2 separate regions of the Homo sapiens genome follow, and region 1 is linked to region 2. The links are contacts of gene promoters, found by promoter capture Hi-C in human tissues and cell types (Jung and others, 2019). All regions are on one chromosome and are shown on one strand. Each heading gives the region's core, a stretch centred on a gene start or on the middle of the fragment in contact. The rest is flanking DNA. Distances are from core to core; before and after follow the strand shown. Region 1 overlaps RGS3 (regulator of G protein signaling 3). Region 2 holds the start of POLE3 (DNA polymerase epsilon 3, accessory subunit).

The links. Contacts are between HindIII fragments. The study calls those that stand out against the background at their distance.
Region 1: a fragment that was not itself captured here is called in contact with the fragment with the promoter of POLE3 in region 2 in 2 of the 25 tissues and cell types used here (aorta and pancreas).

What each region holds. Positions count from the first base shown.
Region 1 is chr9:113,482,416-113,488,849 of GRCh38, forward strand. RGS3 (regulator of G protein signaling 3) reads left to right here. Exons shown (of 23, transcript NM_001394167.1): 3 at 644-702; 4 at 1,723-1,817; 5 at 3,210-3,278. Among named protein-coding and RNA genes, the nearest start is that of RGS3, 22 kb to the left of the region's middle. The HindIII fragment of the contact is 6,557 bases long and covers 1-5,123 here.
Region 2 is chr9:113,408,956-113,415,547 of GRCh38, forward strand. POLE3 (DNA polymerase epsilon 3, accessory subunit) reads right to left here and starts at 1,720. Exons shown (of 5, transcript NM_017443.5): 1 at 1,662-1,720; 2 at 1,273-1,453; 3 at 1,100-1,185; 4 at 655-773; 5 at 1-28. The coding sequence starts at 1,338. It overlaps C9orf43 (chromosome 9 open reading frame 43), which reads left to right and starts at 1,792. Exons shown (of 14, transcript NM_001278629.2): 1 at 1,792-2,046; 2 at 4,490-4,689; 3 at 4,804-4,939. The coding sequence starts at 4,539. RefSeq lists enhancers at 518-1,717, 620-1,519, 1,092-1,371, 1,612-1,801, 2,420-3,319. The HindIII fragment of the contact is 6,520 bases long and covers 1-6,095 here.

The DNA of each region.
Region 1 (6,434 bases), core at 595-3,094, 74 kb after region 2:
TATATGGTGAGTAAGCGGTGCAGCTGGGATTCATGCCTGGGTCCGTCCACCCCTGAGGCCCCAGCTTGTGACTCCTGTGCTGTGCTGTCCGCCAGCCACAGCACGGCTCACGGCACACCGTGAGTGCCACGGCATGGCTCATGGCACATGGTGAGTGGCCCCTTCATTCCTAGAAGGCAGTCTTGTGTGGTAGAGCACTGAGCCGGGAGTCAAGAGACATGGGTTCCAAATCCAGCGGTCATTCCCATTGTTCTGTGATTGTGGGCAAGTTTCTTACTATCTTGGGTTCCCCTCGAAGCCTCATTTTCCCCATTACATGAAGGGTTAGATTCTATAAACTGTAGTTCTCTTCCAGCTGTAAGATTCAGGGAATTGAATGTACCTCGTAATGCATTGGTGAGGGTGCTGCCAGAGAGTGGAAGATGGTGGGAATGGCCTAGACCAGAGCAGGTTCATAGCCAATGGTGGTTATGCAGATTAAGGGCCTAGTAGCAGGGGCCATAGCCCTGCTACTCACAGATACGCTTTTCTTTTCAGGTCTCTTTATTCGTGTGGATGGATATGTCTATGTGTGTCTCTCTTTCTCGCTGTGTGTGTGTGTATGTTTCCATTCATCCACCCCAATGTCTGAATTCTCTTTTAGTTATAGAAGGTAAAGGCCTGATCAGCAAACAGCCTGGCACCTGTGATCCGTATGTGAAGGTATGTGGTGGGGCCGGAGATGGAGAGTGGGATATTGAGGGGCCATGTTACTGGGCTCAGTCCCAAGGTCCCAGCACACCTGTGGGGCTGGTGACCTTTGAGGAGGCAGTTGCCATCTCACTCATCTTCTCAATAGGCATTTATTGGGCCCAGTGCTGGGACAAACCCATTCCCTTAGCTCGGCTGGGTCCCTGGGGCTTCCTGCAACAGCCAAAATCTTAAGGGCGATCTTGGTCATCTATATAGGTGGGCAGTGAGTATGTGGATGGCTGAAATCCACAGGTAATCCCAAGACCTCTTGTGAAAAGCACCGTTTTCACCCACTTTCCCCCCAAACTAGGGGCAGGATGGCCAGATTTGGGCAGTAGAGTGGAGGGAGTGTCTCTGAGGGCTGGAAGATCCTTCTGGGTTGGGCTTTTGCTGTAAAGACAGGGTCCTTATAGGGGTGGGGCTCTACTTTCAGTGAGAGCCAAAGGCCAGGAGCTTCCTAAAGTGTGGCAGCTGGGGTTCCAGGTGCTGGCCCTCAGCATTCTTCCTGAAGCCTTCAGGCTGATCAGAAGCCCCTGCTGGCAAGGAATTTATCAGGAGCAGGGCTAGAACAGCCCTGGGTTGAGAACATGGATTTGGGGCCTTGGCAGAGGCTGACCTGGAGCCTTCGTGAAGGGAGCACTCAGCAGCTGCTGGGACCTTAGAAGAGAGGAGTCCTTTCGCTTCTGGGGAAACCACTCTGCTTGGGGGAAGAGCAGAGATGATAAAGTTGTACCCCAGCTCTGGCTGGGCCGTGGCTGCCTTTTTGGTACCACCCACCATGAGGCCCTGTCCTGGCATCTGCCTCCAATGTCTCTTGCCCTGGGCTCCTTGTTCCCTTGCAGCATCTGACAGGGGACTCTATTCTGTCCTCTGCAGAGGCTGACTTGAAGGACCCTGGGAAGCCTTTAACTTGGAGATGTGCAGAGTCAGCTGCTGGGCTTAGGTGGGCCATGAGATCCGCTAATCATGCTTCCTTTTTTCCAATTCAAGATTTCTTTGATCCCTGAAGATAGTAGACTACGCCACCAGAAGACGCAGACCGTTCCAGACTGCAGAGACCCGGCTTTCCACGAGCACTTCTTCTTGTAAGAGTCTGGTGCAGCTGGGCCCTAGAAAGGAGAGGGAAGGAGTGTTTATCTGGAAACAGCTCTGTTTGCCAAATCTAGAACTAGATCTATGCAAAAAAAAAAAAAAAAAAAAAACCAAAACAAAAAAAACCAGTGCCTTCTAAAGGATGTCTTTGTTTTCTCACTCACTTGTGTCCTTGCATCCCTGGCACCAGGCCCAGCAGCGAGGTCCACAGTGATAAGGTATCACTTGGCTAGCTCTCATAACTAAAATGCCCAGCCTGGGGCTGGCAGCCCATAAAAAGTGTAGGCAATTTCCCACTGTGCCTTGGGCCAAGCTTTCTCCTTTAGCCGAAGGAATTTTCCAAGCTGAAGGATGTTTTGCCTCCCTGCCCCCCTTTTTACTTCAACTTTCTAACCTCTCTGAGCCTTGGCTTCCTTATTTGTAAAATGGGGCTAATAATAGTAGCAACCTCAGAGAGCTGTGGGGTATAAATGGGACAGTATAACATAACACAGGGTACCAGCTATTATTGTTATTATTTCTTTCCCCAATCTCTGAACTCTGGGGCCAATGGGAAGGTAATGTACATTTTGTATTTTCCTATTAGTGAAAATTAATATTTTGGTTTTTCTCTTACTACATAAAGTAGTTTTGGTTATGATAGGAAAATAGAAAATATAGATGAGTAAAAAGAAGAAAATAGAAAACACCTATAGCCCTCCTACTCACAGATACGCCCTACTGTATTTCTTTTCAGACCTTTTAAGGTCCTTTTCAGACCTTTTCAGACCTTTTAATGTGTATGTTTGCGTGTGGGTGTGTATGTTTGCATGTGTGTGTGTATATGTCTGTGTGTGTATGTTTACAAAAATGGAATTTTTTTTTTTGAGATGGAGTCTTGCTCTGTCACCCAGGCTGGAGTGCAGTGGCACAATCTCGGCTCACTGTAAGCTCCGCCTCCTGGGTTCACGCCATTCTCCTGCCTCAGCCTCTGGAGTAGCTGGGACTACAGGCGCCTGCCGCCATGCCTGGCTAATTTTTTTTGTATTTTTAGTAGAGACGGGGTTTCACCGTGTTAGCCAGGATGGTCTCGATCTCCTGACCTCATGATCCGCCCACCTCTGTCTCCCAAAGTGCTGGGATTACAGGCATGAGCCACTGTGCCCGGCCCGAAAATGGAATTATTTTATAATAGCATGTTGTAACCTCCTTTTTGTCCTTAACAACATAATATAAACTGTTTTATGCATGGAGGTAGTCATCTCTTACTTTATTTGTAATATAGTTTATTTAACCAGCTGTTGACGTTACTTCCACATTTTTGGAATTATGACTGACTCTATGAGTCAGCTATGGCCTGGAGCTCAGCCCTTACTAACACTCCGATGGTCTGATTGATTTCGCAGTCCTGTCCAAGAGGAGGATGATCAGAAGCGTCTCTTGGTTACTGTGTGGAACAGGGCCAGCCAGTCCAGGTGAGGAGAGCTGCTGAGCTGGAGGGGGACTCTGCTCTGGGCTAGTGGGTGACAGCCAGGTGGCCAGCATACACCAGGGGTTCGATTAGTGCTTTCTGGATAAATGAGTGATAGTGGCAATACTAAATTGCAGAGGCTGCCCCTCCTTGAGTCTCCATCATTCCAGGTGTTACCAAGGACTGTGTTATCAATGAGCATTTGCTGAGCACTCGGTATCAAACAAGGCACTGTGCTGGTCACTGGGGAAGCCGACCAGCCTACACATGGAAATTTATTCTCAAGGTGTCCACTGTTCACGTGGGGACACCAGGCACTGCATGGAGAGAAATTACAATAACAACATGTACGTGCTCAGTTCTACAGGACTCTAAGCACCTTGAAAAACAGGACTATTTCTTTTTTAGTCATCACAGTACCTAGTGCCTGGCATATAGATGTTTATTAGATATTGGCTGCATGAAGAAAAGAATGACATGAGTAATAAAGGCCATCAGTATGGGAAGAGGGAGAGTTCACTGTGGTCTGAGATGATCAAGGAAGGCTTCATGGAAAAAGTGGAATTTTGAACTTGGGCACAGATGAAGAATAAGACAACTAAAGAAGAAGGTTGGAAATGGCATTCCAGGCAGGGCAAAGCATGAGCAAAGGCAAGGAGGCAGAAATACTCACTGTAAGCTAAGGCTGCCATGATGAGGCCAGGTAAGGGAGTATAGAAGTTTTGTGTAGGAGAATCCAAACAGGCTGATCTTGCAGGCAGTGCAGGACACAGGAGGGCTGAAGTGGCCATTAGTGACGGCAGTTAGAGCGGAGCAGGGGAGGAGTGCCGGGCAGGTGAGCATGAGAATTGGCTGTTGAGTGACAGCAATGCACTGCCATGGCCCACTGTTAGCGGCAGTGGCTCATTTGGCTGGTGCAGCCTAAGGAATCTGGGATACCCCATGGTCAGTATCATTTGCGGAGCAATCACATCACTGAATGGTGACTGAAAAGGGGCTTCCGTGAATGAAAATCAGCTCAAGTCACCAGCTGAGACCTGGAAAACATTTTTGGGTTCAATGCTCTTTAGTACTCTAAATGTTATTAGCTAATATGTTTTTTAAAATCGGGGTGTATTTAACATACAAAACGAAGGATTTCTCTTTTAATAAAGTATCCACTTTTCATCCTAGGGTAGTATAGTACAATAAACCTCATTCATTCATTCATCCAGCTGCCATTTCCTGGGTATCACTGTGGCAACAACATGCTGGGGATGCATGCATAGGGTCAAAGACTTTCCTATCGGATCACCGATAGAGACTTGGAGCTGAGAGTGAGGAGGGGGACGTCATGTTAATAACAATAGCAATTGCTGACTGGGTGCTGACCTGGAGCCAGGGGTTAACAGTGCATTGTCTCATTTAATTCTTTTTTTTTTTTTTTTTTTTTTGAGACGGAGTCTCGCTCTGTCGCCCAGGCCGGACTGCGGACTGCAGTGGCGCAATCTCGGCTCACTGCAAGCTCCGCTTCCCGGGTTCACGCCATTCTCCTGCCTCAGCCTCCCGAGTAGCTGGGACTACAGGCGCCCGCCACCGCGCCCGGCTAATTTTTTGTATTTTTAGTAGAGACGGGGTTTCACCTTGTTAGCCAGGATGGTCTCGATCTCCTGACCTCATGATCCACCCGCCTCGGCCTCCCAAAGTGCTGGGATTACAGGCGTGAGCCACCGCGCCCGGCCTGTCTCATTTAATTCTTACAACAGCTCTAAGAAGAGTGTGGTTTTGTCCTAAGTTTTCAGAAGAGGAAACTAAAGTTTAGAGAGGTTAGGAATTTGCCTAAGGTCATACAGCCAGTTAACAATAGAGCCGGGATGGAATCCAGGTGGTTGGACCCCAGGGTCTTTCCTCTCAACACTGTACTGACTCATGGGTGGACAGGTGAAAGGACAGAAGAAAGAGCCAGTAAAGTAGAGAGGGAAGGGCAGGGCAAGAGTGGAGTGAGGAGGGATCTGCAAACTCATTGACGTTGCTGGAAGGTTAAGTACAAAGTAGGGACTGGCTAAAGATTAGCTGAAGAGGTTGGTATAAGCCAAGTCAGATGATTCTGTAGATTCTCTTTGGAGTATGGGGTTTCTCCTAAGGGCCGGTGGTTCTCGATCCTGGATATACATCAGAATTCCTTGGGATGCTTGTCAGGAACCTAGATTCTTAGGTGCCGCGTCAGATTAATTACATCCAACTCTTCATGGGCAGGGCTGAGAAATCTGCATTTAAACATGTTTGCAGGGTGAACCTCCTGCAGTCACTTTGGTGTTTGGGAATGTCTGGCCATTGGGAGATACTGAAGTGTGTCAAGCCAGGGAATGATGGATGCACATTCTAGATCTATCACTTTGGTAGGTCTTTGGAAGGTTGAGGTGAGAGAGAGGCTTTGGGGCTAGGGAGGGGAAAACAGACTCAGGCCATATTTAGGAGATTAAATCAGTAGTGCTTAGTGGTGATTTGGCTGTGAGAGCAGTGTGAGAAGTCAAGGGTAACTCCTGGGCGGCTGGTGGTGTCTCCACCTAAGACAGAGTTACTGGAGGTGGAGGTGAGTCAGCTTGGGATACGGTGAGATGCAGGTGCTTGGAGGGGAGCCAGGTCAGAGCTGTGAAGTAGGGCTCACCTTTGCCTACCTGGAACTTGGAAGACAGAGATATGGGAGCCATGAGCAGGAAGGCAGTGGGTGAAATTCTGAGCAAGTGAGATTGTCAAGGAAGGTCATCGAATGCTAAGGACCAAGGGTCCGCTCCCTGTCTTTGAAGGGACAGGCCAATGAAGGGAAGGTCCTGAAGGAGACAGCAGAGTGTCAGAGAGGCATATGGACGCCCAGAAAGCCCTTTGGGTGGAGGCAGACACCAAACTGCTGGAGAAGGAGCCGGTCATGCCCTTCATGGCTTTTGGAAAAGAAAATGAGGCCAGGGAAAGTGAGTCAGCGTCATGGGGCAGTGTCTCCACGTGTTGCCTATTTTGGGAAAGTGAGATGCCTTATTAAACAAACTACAGCCAAACTCACGGTCACAGTCCCAGCCCGAAGCTCAGGAGGATCAGGGCCTTGGGAGCAGAGGGCCCTGTGAAGCTGTGAGCAGCACGCAGGCCGGCCTGGCCTCCTTGCGCTCTCCTTTTCCTCTCTCCTTTA
Region 2 (6,592 bases), core at 470-2,969:
TTCTTGCCTTTCTGCTCCCGCCTATATGCTGTAAGGACGGAACAAGGGGTTAGGAGACAGAGCTGAAAGTGAGCCAGACGGACTGCAGGAGCTAATTACATTGTACAATTGGAAAAACGGAGGCAGATGGGCGCGGTGGCTCACGCCTGTAATCCCAGCACTTTGGGAGGCTGAGACGGGCGGATCACCTGAGGTCAGGAGTTCAAGACCAGCCTGGCCAATATGGTGAAACCCCGTCTCTACAAAAATAAAAAATGAGCCGCACGTGGTGGCGTGCGCCTGTAGTCCCAGCTACTCGGGAGGCTGAGGCAGGAGAATTGCTTGAACCCAGGAGGAGGAGACTGCGGTGAGCTGAGATCCCATCACTGCACTCCAGCTTGGGTGACAGAGCAAGACTCCGTCTCAAAAAAAAAAAAAAAAAAACAAAAACAAGAAAAGCAAGACAAAAACAAAAACGGAGGCAGAGAAGGAAAAATAACTTGCTCAGCATTACAAAACAGATCTGAGGTGGTGCCCACCGAACTGGGTCGAGTCACATCAAGTGCTGGCTTACTGGACTTAAAGGGACCCGCGCTGAGAAGGCTCAGGGCCTGGTGAACAGGTCACACAGGATGACCATCTTCTATGTGGTTTAGAAGACAAGAGGCTCGTTACCTTCCAGAGCTTCTTTCAATGGGGTAACGAACCGCTGGAACTCCATCTCTTCCATGGCTGAGAGCACATCACTGGCATTCAGCGTCTTCCGCTTTCCTTTCATTGCAAAGTTGTTAGCACTGAGAGAAGAGAAAGGCTGTCAGACTCCCTCTTGTTTGTAAGGCGTGAGTGGGAAAAGGAGCACCCAGAGGTGGAACGGGAAAGCCTGCCTCTTACATGTATGGATTTTGGTGTGACAGGGATAAGTCCTTCCCTTCTCTGCACAAAAAAGCTAAAGCAAAGTGATTTTGTTGTGTTATTTTGCTTCAGAACTTGTAAAAACTGGCAGAGGACTGTGAACATGTCCCCACCGAGGGAGAACACAATCGTTGGGGTTTGTAGGCTCCCAGCCAGCAACTCCCAGCCAGGTATCCCCGCGCCTCCCTTATGCCTCTGTCCCGCTCACCAGGATGTGGCGTACAGCACGAAGACGCTGGCGGCGCGGGAGATGGCGCTCCGGGCCTCCTTGGAGATGTTGACACCGTCCGGGAGCTGCGAGGAGACCGGGGGTGAGCAAAGCTGCCGTTCCAGCACCTGCTTCCCTCCTGCCCGTTCGTCCGCCCCCCCCGAGCTGCTCACCGCCTCCTTGATGATCCTGGTGATCACGGCATTGGGCAGGTTTAGGTCCTCGGGCCTCTCCGCCATTGCCGCCGCTGGGGCTTAAACTCCCCTTCGCCTCCGCTTCAGGGAGCTACTGCGTCCGGACTTCCCGCGTCGCTACGGTCTGACCCTGCGAGGTTTCCGTTCCGCCCCACGTGGCCTACAGTGTCCCACAGTGCTCTGAGCGCCATAGCCTCCCTCCTCCCCCCACAGCCCCGCCTCCGCCTCAAATACCGGCGCATCCGGATTTTGAAGCCGCAGTGGTTTTGGCCCGCCAAGGCTTCCATCCAACCCTACCGCACCCCGCACGCCCCTCCCCAGGTCCATTTCTCTGCTTCTCGCCATCGCCGCGTCGGGAACCTTCTCACCAACTTATTTGGCTCAATGGAGCTTCCGTCCGTTTCCCATGGTGCCCTGCGCCGCTGCTGGGTGACGGCGCGGCCGGGCGCAGCGCGTGGGAGACGAAGGCGTGGCTGACTCGGCGGGGCGGATCCCTTTAGGACCCGAGGCAGGCTCTGGGCCCGCCGGGTCCGTTAATCTCACCGCGCCGCAAGGGGCCACGTTTTACCACTTGATTTAGCAACCCTAAGCGGTTTGGAATCTGCTTTGCTCTCACAGGACCTCAGCCCGTCGTGATCAGATTCTCCCACTTTCTTTTTTCTTTCCTGGAATGGAGTGGGCAGTCTTTTTCCATCTCTACCGAAGTTGATGTTCATTTTTAATCTTTTCGCCCCTCACGCTTTTGTAATAATGGTACTAAGACTGAGTGTTATTTAGATTTTATTGTTGTTGTTTGTGTTTAACGCGAACTATTTAGGCAGCCCAGGGATAATGCTGGCCATATAGAGATGCGCCTGATTAGGTCTCAGGAGTCAATTCGGACTGGGCAGGTAACGAAAGGGCGAGAAGCAGCCTTTTCACTGTATGAAGAATGCAACGTCACATTCGCTTTCAAAAACAAACCGTGTTAAAATTGTATTTATTTTTCAGTTAAATTGTTCATCATACATTTTTTCCAGTTAAAACCATTCTCAAGGTTTTGCAATGGCGTTTCTTTTTTTTTTTTTTTGAGACAGTCTCACTCTGTCGCCCAGGTTGGAGTGCAGTGGCGCCGATTTCGGCTCACTGCAAGCTCCGCCTCCCGGGTTCACGCCATTCTCCTACCTCAGCCTCCTTAGTAGCTGGGACTACAGACGCCCGCCACCACGCCCGGCTAATTTTTTTGTATTTTTAGTAGAGACAGGGTTTCACCGTGTTAGCCAAGATGGTCTCGATCTCCTGACCTCGTGATCCGCCCGCCTCGGTCTCCCAAAGTGCAGGGATTACAGGCGCCAGTCACCGCGCCCGGCGCAATGGTGTTTTAAGTTGTTTTTAAGTTATTTTTATATTAAGTTCGTAGAAATTCTCACTCCCACTGATTTTATTTATTTTTTAATTTTTAAAATTTCTTGACAGGGTCTCACTCCGTCCCCCAGGCTGGAGTGCAGCGGCACGGTCTCGGCTCACTGTAGCCTCGACCTCCCTGGCTCAGGTGGTCCTCCCACCTCAGCCCCAAATAGCTGGGGCTACAGGTGCGTTCCATCACACCCAGCTAATTTTTTGTATTTTTCGTAGAGACAGGGTTTCACCATGTTGCCCAGGCTGGTCTCGAACTCCAGGGCTCAAGTGATTCTCCCTCGGCCTTGCAAAGTGCTGAGATTACAGGCATGAGCCACGGCGCCCAGCCTCCCACTGAGAATTAATGCTGCTTTTTTTTCCCGTCAAGCATGCAGTCCCAAGTCGCCCTGTAGTTTTCCTGCTTTCGATAGAAGCCTGATTATAGAGAAATATTTTAAAACAAAAGAGCAAATGCTATGATAAATGGCAACTGAAAGTGTTTCAATTAGAGACCATAAGGTCTGGTGGGGGAACTCCGCTTGGATAGAACAGACCTGGCTGAAACCATCAGGGCTGCTCAGCGCTAGTCAGTTGCTCTTCAACTGGAATTGGGCTCAGTGTTGTCAAGTATTTTGGTCCCTAAAAGGACATTGTGGGCTATTTCAATTTTAAAATTGATTCAAATTTAAAATTGATTCAAAGTGCTAGCCAAACAAAACAAGTAATAGGCCAGGTGCAATCCCAGGCTGATAGTTTATCTTTGATCTAAATTATGAAACTGTTTAGAACAGGGAGTTTGTTTATTACTGTTCATGTCCAAAGCAGGTCCCCTCACATATTTAGTAATCAATAAATGTGTTGAATAAAAGAAAGAAATGGACACTGTCCTTAAAAAGTTCTTAGGAATAAGGTGGTAGTTAGTGATTGCCTAAAACACCTCTAGAAAGGAAAAGATGATAATATTTATTGAACACCTCCCATGAATAAAAGTACATTATCTCATTTAATGCTTCTGCAGTCCTACTTAGGGATTCCCTGCCTTCTGCTTATGTTATTTATTATTTTTTGTGGAGAGGGGGTAACTCATCTTGGCCTACCAAAGTGCTGTGGTTACAGACCTGAGACACCAAGTCAGGACCCCTCCCCCTACTTGAGAGAGAGGTGTGAAGACCCTTGTCAAAGGCCATATGGCCAATGAATGAAAAGCTAATGGCCTCTGATGCAACTAGCAGTGTCTAGTGATTTGCTATTTGAGCAAACACATTCATTGCTGGTGGGTATTTTATCTGCCTGCATGGGAACTGAAGCACATTGAAAAATGAAACATGTCTTCCAGAAGTTTGGGCCTTCTAAGACACTTCTGTGACTACTTTGGTCATAATTTGATAATGCTTTTTGGAGATGGTGGCATCTTCTCCCTGATGACTAACGAAGGGGAAAAGGAAAGGATGCAAATATTTATTTGGAACAATATGCCAGGCTTTTAATATCCATTAACTAATTTTTATAATGACCCTGTGAAATAAGCTTATCCTCATTTTACAGTGGAGGCAACAGGCTCAGACTGGTTAAGTCCCAGGTCACTCAGCTATTAAATAGCCAATTAGGAGACCTGAAGTCCTGCTCTCAAACTCTTGCCATTCTACTTTATGCTGAGCTATTTTCATACTTGCTTGTTATCCAATCTTTAATTATTTTGTGGCCATCATTTACCTATATAGGTTCAATAGAAATATTTTATACTGTGAGTTCAAATTAACATCTGGACTGTATGGCTAATGTATAATACTCCCTAATTATGTAGCTGTTGATTTTCCAGAGCACTAGAATGCTGCAGGGTTGGCCTTTGGCCTAAACCATTTCTAGCTATGGACTTGCCAGATGAGAGCCAGTGGGACGAAACCACCTGTGGCTTGGCTGTTTGTCAGCACCCACAATGCTGGGCAACTATCCGCCGCATTGAGAGGGGCCATCCTCGAATCCTCGGCTCATCCTGCAAAACTCCCCTGGATGCTGAAGGTGAATTAGCCAGCTTCTGTCCTCTCCCTCACGAGGTCCTTAACGTATTTATGTATGTGGCTCCCTTTCTCCAGGCAGCAGGTTAACATGTTTTCTTCTGGTCTGCCTTCTTAGATAAACTCCCAGTGCTCACCGTGGTAGACATCTTAGATTCCGGCTTTGCAGCTCATCATTTACCAGAATGTACCTTTACTAAGGCCCATTCTTTATTGTCTCAGAGTTCAAAGTTTTACTCCAAATTTCATGGCAGGTAAATTATCATGGAATCTTCCTTTACAGCCTATTGTCTCAAAATTCTGGATTATGATTTTCCTTATCCATTAGTATACTTTGAGAAAGCTAGATTAAAAAGAAAATACCAATTGGGTTAAAGAAGTGGTGAATAGGCAGTGGGAAACAGAAAGAAACCCTTCCTGCTTGTGCCCTAGGAATTGGTTAATTTGGGAGGTATATTGGTTCGGTAGGGCTGTTATAACAAAATACCATAGACTGGGTGCCTTAAACAACAAAATTTATTTTCTTGTAATTCTTGAGGCTAGAAGTCCAATATCAAGGTGTTGCCAAGACTGTTTGCTTTTGAGACCACTCTTGGTTTGTAGATGGTAATTTTTTATACCCTGTGTCCTTTTTATTTATTTTTTTTGAGACAGGGTCTCACCCTGTCACCCAGGCTGGACTAGAGTGCAATGGTGCGATCATAGCTCACTGCAGCCTCAACTTTCTGGGCTCAAGCGATCCTCCCACCTCAGCCTCCCAAGTAGCTAGGACTACAAGTGTGCACCACCACGCCTGGTTAATTTTTTTTTTTTTTTTTACTTTTATTAGAGACGAGGTCTTGCTTTGTTGCCTGGGCCGGTCTTGAACTCCTGGCCTCAAGTGATCCTCCTGCCTTGGCCTCCCAAATTGTTGGGATTACAGGCATGAGACACCATACTGAGCCCCTCTCCCTATGTGTTAACATGGTCTTCCCTCTGTGCGTCTGTGTCTTAATTTCTTCTTACAAGGACACCAGTCTTACTGGGTTAGGGCCCCCTCATGTGACTTCATTTTTACCTTAATAACTTTTTAAAAAACCATATCTCCAAATACAGTCAAATTCTGAAGTACTAGTTGGGACTTTAACGATGAATTTTGGGAGGACACAATTCAGCCCATCTTATCAGCATCTGTATGTACGGACAGAAAACCATCCATATATGCCATCTTTCTTTTTTCTTTTTTGAGACAGAGTCTCACTCTGTCACCCAGGTTGGAGTGCAATGGCACGACCTCTGTCTCCCAGGTTCAAGCAATTCTCATGCCTCAGCCTCCCGAGTATCTGGAATTACAGGCGTGCACCACCATGCGTGGCTGATTTTTATATTTTTAGTAGAGACAGAGTTTCACCATGTTGGCCAGGCTGGTCTCAAACTCGTGACCTCAAGTGATCCACCCGCCTCAGCCTCCCAAAGTGCTAGAATTACAGGTGTGAGCCACCATGCCCAACCCTGTCTTTCTATTTCCTTTTTTTTTGGTGGGGGATAGGGTCTTACTTTGTTGCCTAGCCTGGAGTACAGTGTCGTGATCTCGGCTCACTGCAACCTCCACCTCCTGGGTTCGAGTGATTCTCTAGCCTCAGCCTCTCAAATAGCTGGGACCACAGGCACGCGCCACCACTCCCGGCTAATTTTTGGATTTTTTGTATAGACAGGTTTTCGCCATGTTTGCCCAGGCTGGTCTTGAACTCGTGAGCTGAAATGAATTGTGTGCTTAAAAATGGCTAAAATGGTCAATTTTTGTTATGTATATATTTACCACAGTAAAAAACTCATATCCTTGTATTTTCATATCACTTGCTGTTTGTCTTATTTTTAAAAAGACGTGTTACATGCATGGATGAATGAATAATGTAAAGGGGTTATCC